2 separate regions of the Homo sapiens genome follow, and region 1 is linked to region 2. The links are contacts of gene promoters, found by promoter capture Hi-C in blood cells and fetal thymus (Javierre and others, 2016). All regions are on one chromosome and are shown on one strand. Each heading gives the region's core, a stretch centred on a gene start or on the middle of the fragment in contact. The rest is flanking DNA. Distances are from core to core; before and after follow the strand shown. Region 1 has its middle 160 kb from the start of CXCL13. Region 2 holds the start of SHROOM3 (shroom family member 3).

Region 1 (5,448 bases), core at 1,220-3,719, 1.0 Mb after region 2:
CTGTCATGTAGGTTGGTGGACTGAGTGAGTGAGTGGGGAAGATCCACCCTCAAGGTGGGTAGGTACCAATCAATTGGCTAGGGACCCAGATAGAACAAAAAGGCAGAGGAAAAAAGTCTCTCTCCCAGAGTTGGGACATCCTCCTCCTCCACCTCCTGCTCTTAGATGTCAGAACTTCAAGTGCTCTGGTGTTTGGACCAGGGACATACACCAGTGACCACCCCCACCCCACCCCCAGTTCTCAGGCCTTTAGCCTCAGACTGAGAGTCACACCCTTAGCTTCCCTGGTTCTGAGGCTTTTGGACTTGAACAGAGCAGTGTTCCCAGCATCCCAAGTTCTCCAGTTTGCAGATAGCCTGATATGGGACTTTTCAGCCTCCATTAACACATGAGTCAGTACCCCTAGTTAATCCCCTTCCATATATTTGTTTCCTATTGTTTCTGTCTCTGGAGGACCCTGACAAATCCAACATCCCTCAGTTCACTATGCTCCTGCAGAGCATCGGTAAAACTTAGTACAAATAAGGAGGTGGCTCTAAAGGGTGCCTAGTAATCATTGTGTTCTTCACCTCCATGACCTTGCAGTAAAATTAAAATTTGAAAAGCCAGAGAATGTCCATGATGGAGCAGTTAAAATTAATTTTATTGCATCTTTTAAGTACATGTCTGATGTTCTGCATGATGAAATGGGAAGTACACATAAAGCTCTTTGCTTATGAAAGTATGATGGCTGTCTTAAAGCCAAGAACTTGTGCAATTGTCATTCTTCCAAGTAGAAATGGTATTCCATGAAGAATGTAGTTCAGCTCACTACTCAAATTACTGTGGCTCAGACTTGGATTTTGGACCGACATTTTCTTAAATGAATAAAGTGAGCTAGTCACTTCAAGAAAACCAGCTGATGGTATTGGTTAGCACTGGTAAAAATTTGTGTTCAGGTAAAATTTAGATTTTTGGAATCTGCCTCCTTGAGCTTGACAACTTCTGATTAAAGACTTTTGTAATGAGAATAGTCATATTAAGAATGTGAATTTTTGCTATTTTATAATGAAAATACCAACATGTAGAAGGTCTGCATAACTCCACCAACAAACTTTCCAGATGACCAGTGTATGATAGTACAAAATCACATGAGATAAATCCATTTAAAAAATAAATCAATGGACTTGAAGAGAGCATGATGTTCATTGATACAGCTACTAATTCCAAATTGCAACTCATCTTTACCAGTTGAGTTTTGGTATAGCATTAAACAAATATCCACAGTTACCTAAAAAGGCATTAAAAATATTTCCTTGTGAGGTTAGATTTTATTTATAAGCTTCAAAGTAACATTGCAACAGATGGAATACAGAAATAGGTATGGGAATTCAACTGTCTTCTAATCCACCAGGTACTTGCAAATACATAAAACAATGTTGCTATTCTATTTTTTGTTTAAGAAATTTTTTCATAAAATGACATTTTGATGAGATTAACATTTTTAAGTTAAATGTTCTCAAACTTTAAAAAAATCTTAGTATTGTGTATGTCAATAGATAAAATCCACCCAAAAGCTAATTGGGCTTTTCATTTTAATAGCATAAAAGGGTCCCAAGACCAAAAAGTTTGAGAACTGCTCTACAAGTTCTGATCACTTATTTCTGTCATGCTGAGAATAGATCTTGAAGTTGCCAGAGGCCAGTACTTCAGTAGTTTGATCCTTCTGTTTGCCACAGCTTTCAGTTGCCTATTTATCCTTTTCTACCATCGTCTGGTAGTACTTGGAAATATCAAAGAAATATCAGAGAATAAACCACTATCCAAGAAGAGGATAGTTGCAATCTGAAGAGTCATTGGCCTTCAAGGAAAAAATCGACTAGAGAGTACATGTAGTTGGACTGCATATATACCTTGGCAATATTTGTCTTCAGTTCTGTTGGAAGTTAACCTCCTGTGTTATCCTCCTACCTTCCTGGGGGCAATAGCCTACTTCAGGATGTGAGATCCGTAGGTGTAAGAACCTGTCCACGTCACTCATAAGAAATAATTCTTTCAATATAGGTTTAAAGTTTATGTTTTTAAATGTGTTCTTAAGAGGATTTCAATCATAACAGCTACTTGTTAATTCTTTTTATGTCTCTCCCTCACACCAACTTACATCATATATTACAAACTTTGGCTTTGGTGAGTGTTTCCCTAATCATTATTTTGCACAAGTATGTACATACTTGTGTAGATACATGTTTTCATAATGTTCATTTCGATTATATTACATGTTCAGCATGTTTCCATGACCACAGAATAGATCATGAACAGATTTCTAAGGACAAATGGTTCAATATTTTCAAATGTTGCATAGAATTGGATGGTTATGGACTTTGTATAATTTTTAACCCTTCCCATATAGTTTGTTGTACCCAAATTTTAGTTCTTGTAGCTGTTCAAATGAACAGGCATATACATCTATCCTTACACAGTTTTAGAAGTACTTCCATAAGATTCATAGGAGTGCAGTACAATCCTTTTAATTCAAGGAAGTGGGATCCAGAGGGCAAGAAATCTATCTAAGGCCAGATTCAAACCATAACTGTCATCAGGGATCATAAAATTTCCATGATGCCCTGTCAGCTGCTGTTCAGCTTACATGGTTAACAAGGAAGAAAGGGCTCTTCCTTTATTAGTGTGATGGATAGACTACTTGAGTAATGGTTGAAAGCCTAGGCAGTAATTGTCATGTTTTTGTCATTCTTTTTCTAAGTATGGCTCTTAAATGTCAGGGACATTTTTCTTGGCAGAATGAACACAATTTTTGTGTGCAGGGGACAGAGTTGACCTCCTGGGACTGCAGGATTTTTGTTTTGCTCCTCCAAGGTAGTCCATAGATATAATTTGAGTACTCTAGTATAGTAGCCTATGCCATAGGGATAGAAAATAACTCTGAACAAAAGAAGGAAATCAATGCCCTGTGATGGAGAATGGGGTTAAATAGATACAGCTGCAAGAGGCGAATTATCAACTCTACTTGGAGATTCACAGTGAGTGATGCTTAAGTTGAGATTTGAAGGGTGAGTAGACGTTTATCTTGGAGGGCATTCAAATCATAGAGAACAGCACATGCGGGGGCTCGGTGTTCTGAAAGTCACTGATATATTCAGGCAAATATCTTTTTTCCTACCCTGGGATTGGTAGAAGTTGCAATGGGAGGTAAGCAGGATCACATCACAGAAGGCTGATCCCCTGTTATAAATTTGGTCTCTCTGACTTCAATATTCGCTTGAGTTACTGTAATGACCTGGATGAGAAATGAGGGCATGAATGATGGAATAAGACATGATGGATTTGAGAAATTTAAAGACTGAACAGATGCCAGCTGAAACTTATCCAGGGTCCTAGTTCTGTTGAGCCTCAAACTAATTGGGAGACAACTGGCTGCCCAGGGATAGGAAAGTTGGTAGTTATCCAATTTGATTCGAGATTTCCTGAGTTGAGATCCAAGTTCACGTCACTCAGGGGCAATAGAAGGCATTTAGCCACACTGCTAATATTTGATTCTGAACTTCTTTACAAGACAGTGTGAGAGCGGTCAAACTTAACAAACCACAAATCTAAGAATGTAATAGGTTATGAGCACAATTCAAAGCTTTAATGCTGGTCACTCCTAATGTAAAAGGTTGGTGAAACTCCAGTTTTCATACAATTGATGTCCAGTGCCAAGGTCCATACTAGATGATACTTTCTAATTTGATTATACTAATATGGTAATTGAGATGTGCTGAGCTAATAATCTAATGATTGAAAGGCAAATAGTTGCACATTTATACTATTCTCACTCCTAAAATTCTCCCCCATTTGCTTTCCCTGTAACTTCTCTACACTAATGTGGCAGTTTGGACTGCCCATACCGGCAGATCCCTGGCTAATCAGTTTGAAAGAGTTTCAAATGAATGACATTCGATTTTAAAACAAAAAGCCCCCTGGCTCTTGTAAACAGAAATAAATGTAATGAGAGGTGAGAGGATATTGGGTAGCTCATGCAATTATCAGGAACAGGGAATCAAGCTCAGAAAATGTTAGGGGGATAGTTGACAACACAGCCCAAGAATCAACTGAAGGCATCAGTGCTAGGATCTCATGCAGCTGGCAATGCTGTCATCAGTCAGTCTGGCGCAAACAACACCAAGAAACAAAGACACTGGAGACTTGACACTTTCATTAATAGATGCAGCAGCACTCAAAGTCTCATAGGTAAGCATTTGATTAACTCATTCTAGGTCATGCCCAGCTCCCAAGAGGATAAGGGAACGTTGAGACTACATTTGGACTGCTAGGTTTGTAGCAGGAAACAGGCTTTGTCATGTGCAAGATCCATGTAGGAACCCATATAGTAAGGGGTTCTATTGCCACACTAATGTAAAAACACTCCAAAACTTAGTGGCTTAAAACAAACATCTACTATGCTCACAAGATCATAGGTCTGCTTAGTGATTCTTCTGGTCATAGCTGGGCTCACTCTGGTGGTTGGCTGGCTGGTAGCTAATTTAAGATGGCCTTAACTGGGACCACTGGCCCTATTCTATGTGTCTCATCTTCTAACTAGATTCTGGACACAATTCTCATGTCAATCACAGATCTCTAATATCTAGGCCCAGACCTGTCATATTGTCAGTTCTACATTCAATTTGCCAAAGTCAAGATTCAAAGGAAAGGGAAATTGTGGTTCCTTCTAGTCATCAAGAAGTAGAACCTAAGATTGGATGCAATAATAGCTTCAGTTCTCCACCTCTCTTTCATCTGCACTTTTTTTACTCTTACAATGAGGGACAAAGTCTCTTGTCCACCTTTTCACTGGGAAGCTCAGTTGATCTTTCTATTCTTTCAGCTATTAACGGCATCTATAACTAAATATGTCTGATTCGTTCTTGTACAAATTGCATATTTCACACAATTCTGGGTCTTTTTTTTTTTTTTTTTTGGAGAGTCTCACTCTGTCACCCAGGCTGGAGTGCAGTTGCACTATCTCAGCTCACTGTAACCTCTGCCTCCCGGGTTCAGGCAATTCTCCTGCCTCAGCTTCCCAAGTAGCTGGGATTACAGGCATGTGCCACAGTGCCTGGCTAATCTTTGTATTTTTTAGTAGAGAAGGGGTTTCACCATGTTGGCCAGGCTGGTCTTGTAATCCTGACCTCAGGTGATCCACCTACCCTGGCCTCCCAAAGTGCTGAGATTACAGGAATGAGCCTTATTTTCATTTCATCTAACTTAGAGATTATCTCACTTATAGACATGTCAGTAGCATAAATTTCTGGAAGTATAATTACTGGGTTGAAGGATATGTGCATTTTAAAACTCGATAGATATTGACAGCCTATCATGAGAAACAGTACACATATACCACCCCACCCAGAAATCTGTGATTACTTGCTTTTTCACCCCCTTGCCAAAATGACAATGATAAAACCATTTTAT
Region 2 (5,920 bases), core at 455-2,954:
ATTTTTGGTGATAATCTAAAATGGAGATTTCATCAGTCTGCAAGCACTGGGTTCATATTATCTTTTCCTTATTTCCTTTGCCTTTAGCTTCATTACTTTTTTTGTTTATTATTTTTTAAATTGACAACTAAAAATTATATATACTTATGGTGTACCACATGATGTTTTGATATAAGTATGCATTGTAAAATGGCTAAATCAAGGAATTAACCTATTACCTCACATACTAATTTTTTTTGTGGTGAGAGCACTTAAAATCTAATCTTAGCAATTTCCAAATATACAATACATTGTTATAACTATGGTCATCATGCTGTACAATAGATCTCTTGAGCTTATGCCTCCTAACTGAAATTTTGTATAGCTATGTTACTTTTAATATTAAATGTGGATTCTGTAAAATCCCAGTTTTTACAAAATGTATTAGGAGTAACATAATAAGAGCCTCATAAATTAATTTTTTCAGAAAGAAAGCTGTTCATTTACCTAGGACTTTTATTTAAAATACATATGTTCTTTGAAATGAAAGAAAAGCTAATGTTTCTCCATTTATTCTAACTTACAAATTAAGCTGTAAAAGAAAACCACAATAGAAATTGCGTAAATTACCCTTAAGAATCAGCCAATTTTTACCACATACTTTCATTTGGTACACCTTAGGTTTCCTTATGTTTCCATTCACATACTACCATTACATAAGGTTTTACTTTTTTTTTTTTTTTTTTGTCTTTGAGCCCTTCAAGTGAAGTTACCATTGAAAATCAAACAATACCTGTCCAGTGTTGTAAATTAAATATCGTGTAGTTTGATATCATATACCTGCCTTTCCATATCAGCCTTTCATTAATTATAAGTACAAACACCAAAATAATTGTTATCAAGCCCCACAGTAGTTTTTAACTTCAGTTTTCAACTTAATTCTCATTATCCCATACTTTTAAACAGAAAAAAGTTTTAGTACATATATTACCTGGAAGTAATTCTAATCTGTTCCAATAACTAAATAGCTGAGGCTTCTGGGTTAGATATGGTTATCTTCTACTGTTCAAATTTTTAATACAAAGCATGAATGTTAAATTTGTATATAACATTATTACAAAATGACACTGGTAACATGAAATCAGAACAACATTCTTTCCCGAGTACCTAGTACTTACCCACAAGGCATTGTAGATTTCTTTTCATTTAAAGAGTGGATAACAATCTTGGAGTAGATAACAATGAAAACCTAGAAAAAAAAACCCACCTCCTGTTTTTATTGAGTCAAACAAGCAGAACTTTGATTGGAAAGTCCCATTTCATATATTACACTGGTAGTATTTTCTTCTAACGAAAAAAAAAAAGCCCTTGTGCCACCACCTTGACATGTACTTAAACGTTTACCCAAATCACTTAGGCATTGCTTCTCAAACTTGGCTGCATAGCAGAATTGCCTGGAGGGTTTTTAAAAACACAAATGCCTATGTCTCACTCCCTGAAATTCTCCTTTAATTGGTACGAGGCGGGGCTATTCTAGGAACTATTTTCTATCCCTTGGCAATTAGCCATCTGTATAGTATTTTTAACTTCCTACGTGTTATTAACTGTAAGACTGTTTGAATTGTCAGGTCTTTGTGGTGAGCTGAATTCTGCATGGCAGTGCTTACTGTGCAGAAAGGTTGCAATGCCTCACTTTGCCTTAATCCATGTTCCTCTAACTTCCTTACTCTTTCTCTCAAGAGGAGGCAAGTGGCTGTGGCGGCCGCAGCAGTGGCTGATCATCACTGAAAATACCAAAGAAAAGAACTGAGCTGCCTCCTTCATATTTTTTCCATTGAGGATTAATTTACCGTGCTTTTTCATTTTCTCTACATCCTGCAAAAGTTTTTTTCTCTCCTAAGAAACAAACTATGAACTGATTGTTGAAAAAAAGAAGTAAAAAGTTTTAGCACAGCTTCTCTGTCTCTTCGGGACAAGTTAGAAAATTCTGAAGTGAGCCGAAGCATAGTAAGTGCTTTCTTTCTTTTTAAGCTACTTCTGGGGAGGGAGGAGGCTATTGTAATGGTAAATTTCACTCCGAGAGGAAGAAAGGGTTGATAATCAATCAAAAATGAGGTATTCCTTTGAGTATTTGTGATTTTCTTACTATATTGTAAGATGCTTTTAATTTTCTCTGTAAAATAGGCAGAAATGGTTTTAGTGTGTGTATGTGTGAAATAAAAGCTCAGAAAAGCAATCTTCAGAGCGCCACTGAAGGAAGTTTTGACGAACGGAGTAGAGATGTATACCACTTGGGGGCTTCAGTGAGAACCCAGAATTCCTGGAGGAGGATTTACATTCAGAAATGTTGAAGTGAAAATTCCTTCTGGTTCAGCATCTTGGAGTTCAGCTTGGAAGAACATTTTACGTATGGAAGAATTTGCTTCTCCAAACCTCTCTTTTGGCCATTGTGTGTCCTGAAGGATGGGACAACTTGTGCTGTAGAAGCACTGCTTGCCTGAGTTTGCTTCAGGCATTTTAAATTTAACTTGAGGGATCATGTGTTTGGCATGATGAGGACCACTGAAGACTTCCACAAGCCTAGTGCCACATTAAACTCTAACACGGCCACCAAGGGAAGGTACATTTATCTGGAGGCATTCCTGGAGGGAGGAGCTCCCTGGGGTTTTACTCTAAAGGGTGGCCTGGAGCACGGAGAACCATTAATCATCTCTAAGGTATGTTTCTTTTTCCAATATTGCCTTTATTCAAATTGTTTTTTTCAACTTGTCAGATTTGTCAAAAATGCAAAATAATGAGAACTGCCTTAATATAACTTAATTTGCTGTTTCATGCCTTTCTGATTATCTAGAAATATTTTGGATAGCCTGGGATTTGAAAGAAAAATGTGTCTAGCTCATTTATTCTATGAAATCCGAAGAAAAATATGCCTGTTTGATGGATAATCTTCTCTTTTTGTGAATGAAATCGCATACAATCAGTTACCACATGAGCTTTTCAGTTATAAATCAGATTAAAGATTAATAACATGGTTAAGATGGTGGCATGGTATATATTTGTGCATTCAAAAATATCTGCTTTTTCTCTCTTCAACTGAAAATAGCATCTAAAAATATTTTAAGTTTGCTTATAATTCTGGATAATAGATTGCATAAATACCATGTGTTGCTTTTTTTCCCCACACTCAGAAAGGAGAATTAAATCAGCTTTCAGCATAACTCAAGATCAAAACATTTCTGCCTCTCCTATTTATCTGTATATTTGAATCCCTTTTTAAACCTTAGTCATCCTGCAGCATACCTCAATTCTTCATTTATCTTTTGGTGTGGGTAGTCATACCAATGAAATATTTATGTACTGGGGTTAATATTTCTATTTTTCTCTTAAACTACAGATTAACATTACTTGTTATAATATTGCTTTTAAATTTTTAGAGTATTTAATAGTCTGATACAATAGATTATAATGGCTTTTCACACATGTGCATTCATCAAGAAACATTTGTAATTAAGGGAGAAAAAATTTTTAATTTGAGGGTGGGAAGAAGGTAATATGGATTGCATTTGAGCTCTGTTATTGGTTCAGGTTACTTTTCATATCCCCAGAAATAATTCCAAAAGGTTATTTTTCAAATTACTGAAGTAATTCTTACTGTGGATGAGCCAGGGAGAACTGGGTTTCACAGTGATAAGCCACGAGTGCACGGGACACCATTATAAGTTGTATGACTTTTCCTTAACTTTCTTAAGTAAAACAAAAGGATGTGCATATGTGTGTGTCAGTTAGGAAGGCTTCCCCCTGTGAAAAAAATTCAAAACCGAGTTTATAGTGGCTCTCAGTAAATTGGGGTTTGTTTTTCTCATATTACAAGAAGTTTGGAGGTAGATTTTCCAGGCAAGGGGAGCAGCAGCTCAATAATGTGATCAAGGACCCCACTTATCTCTCCACTCTGCCATTCTTATGATGTTGGCTTTGTCTTCATGGTTGCATGATGGATCCCACAACTCCAGCATTGATTGCATCTTCATTCCAGACAGGTTTTTGGCTTTTTGTTTCTCATTAGACCTTTGCTTTCATCTCATTAACCAGAACTGTACCCTGTGCCTGTCTTTAGGCCAATCACTGGTAAGAAATGCCAGTGATTAATACAGACTGATTAGGATTTCTTTCACAGGTTTCTACAATAAGGACCTACTCTTCCTGAAGTCAAGGAATCATTGCCCACTGTTTGAATGATTTGAGGTTCTTTTTGCAGGAAGAAAGAGGGCATGGTTGCTGAATAACAGATAATTCTGCAATGAACATAAATATTGTCTCGGCATTTAAAAAGTCTAGTTGTACACAATTTGCCTGTCCCTTAATGATAAAATATTCTGTATCTATACACTACAGTATCTGACAGTTTGCTGACAGAAAGGTCTAATCCTCCCACTAATGAGCCAGCTTCTCTAAGCCTCCATTTTACCTGCAGAATGGGGCTATCCTACTATCTACTTTAATGGGTTGTGTTTAAATGCAACCATGCATTTAGGTTAGTGTCTAGTACACAGAAGGAGCAAAGATTATGATTATTGCTTTTCATTATTCTAGCAGACATGTGTAGTAGGAGACAGGTCTGGCTGCTGTAAAAAGATCCAAAATAACAATAATATAGGAATTTATTTCTCTGACATAACAGTCTGAGCATAAGCCAAACCAAAAGATGGCTCTATGATGTCAGGGACCCAAGTTCCTTCTATTTTCTTACTTCCATCCTGGAGTGATATCTCATCTTCATGGTCCAAGTGACTTGCCACCACATCTGCTTTCCAGTCAGTAAGAAGCAGGGAAGAGGGAAAAGAGAAGGCAATCTCCTTTCTTTCAAGGATCCAATCTGGTCCAATGTGCTCTGTCCAATATGGTGGCCCACAGTCACATGTGACTATTTCTATTTCAATTAAAGGTAACTAAAATGAAGTAAAAAATTTTAAACTCTGTTTAAATGTTCCTCATTTGCACTTGTTGCATTCCAAGAGTCGTACTGTTCCGAAGCTCTTGAACATCTTCCCCCATGTTGTCTGTCTGGCAAACTCTTTAAAGCTCCATTTCTTCTTCTCTCTGAGGTTTTCCTGATGTCACCCAAGTTGAGTTCCGTGGTCTCCCTTCTACACTTCCATATTATGCATGTATTACATTGAATCATAAAATTTTATTTCGTTGATTGCCTTCTCAGAAGTCTGTGAGCCTTTTTAGGGCAGGGACTATTTTTTTTTTTTCATCTCTATCACATCTAAATCAGAGCCTAGGTACACAAATGTTTGTTGAGTATATGAAAGGGCATGGCTGTGTCTTACTCATTTTGCATTTTCAGGATCTAGCACAGTGCCTGGCACAGAGTAGGCACTCAATAACTTTTACTGAATTAATAAGCAAAAGACCAAACAGAACCAATGAGGATGCCAGGCAGACCTCCATGTGGGGCATGTATTAGTTTCCTATTGCTGCTGTAACAAATTACTACAAACTTATGGCTTAAAAACAACACAACTTACAGTTCTGTAGGTGACACACCTCACACAGATCTCACTGAGCTAAAGTCAGTGTGTCAGCAGGGCTGTGTTCCTTGCTGGAGGCTCTAGGGGAAGATGTGTTTTCTTGCCCTGTCTAGCTTCTAGAGGCTGCCCACATTCCCTGGCTCATGGTCCCCTTCCTCCATCTTCAAAGTCTGCAACAGCAGGTTGAGTCCTTCTCACCCTGCAGCTGACCTCTGACTGCCTCTCTCTTTCACTTTTAAGGCCTCTTGTGAGTACCTTGGACCTACCAGGATAATCCTGGATAATCTCTCTATTTTAAAATCAGCTGGTTAATAGCCTTAATTGTATTTGCAACCTTAATTCACCCTTACTAAATAACCTGACATATTCACAGGTTTCAGGGATTAGAATGCAGACATCTTAGGGGA

What was found. Contacts are between HindIII fragments. The CHiCAGO score rates a contact against its expected background, and 5 or more counts as called.
Region 1: a contact is called between a fragment that was not itself captured here and the fragment with the promoter of SHROOM3 in region 2, in 1 of 17 cell types (non-activated CD4 T cells). The highest score is 5.3, in non-activated CD4 T cells.

Annotation. Positions count from the first base shown.
Region 1 is chr4:77,443,386-77,448,833 of GRCh38, forward strand. No RefSeq gene overlaps it. Among named protein-coding and RNA genes, the nearest start is that of CXCL13, 160 kb to the right of the region's middle. The HindIII fragment of the contact is 2,301 bases long and covers 1,320-3,620 here.
Region 2 is chr4:76,433,525-76,439,444 of GRCh38, forward strand. It overlaps SHROOM3 (shroom family member 3), which reads left to right and starts at 1,705. Exons shown (of 11, transcript NM_020859.4): 1 at 1,705-2,696. The coding sequence starts at 2,529. The HindIII fragment of the contact is 11,529 bases long and covers 1-5,920 here.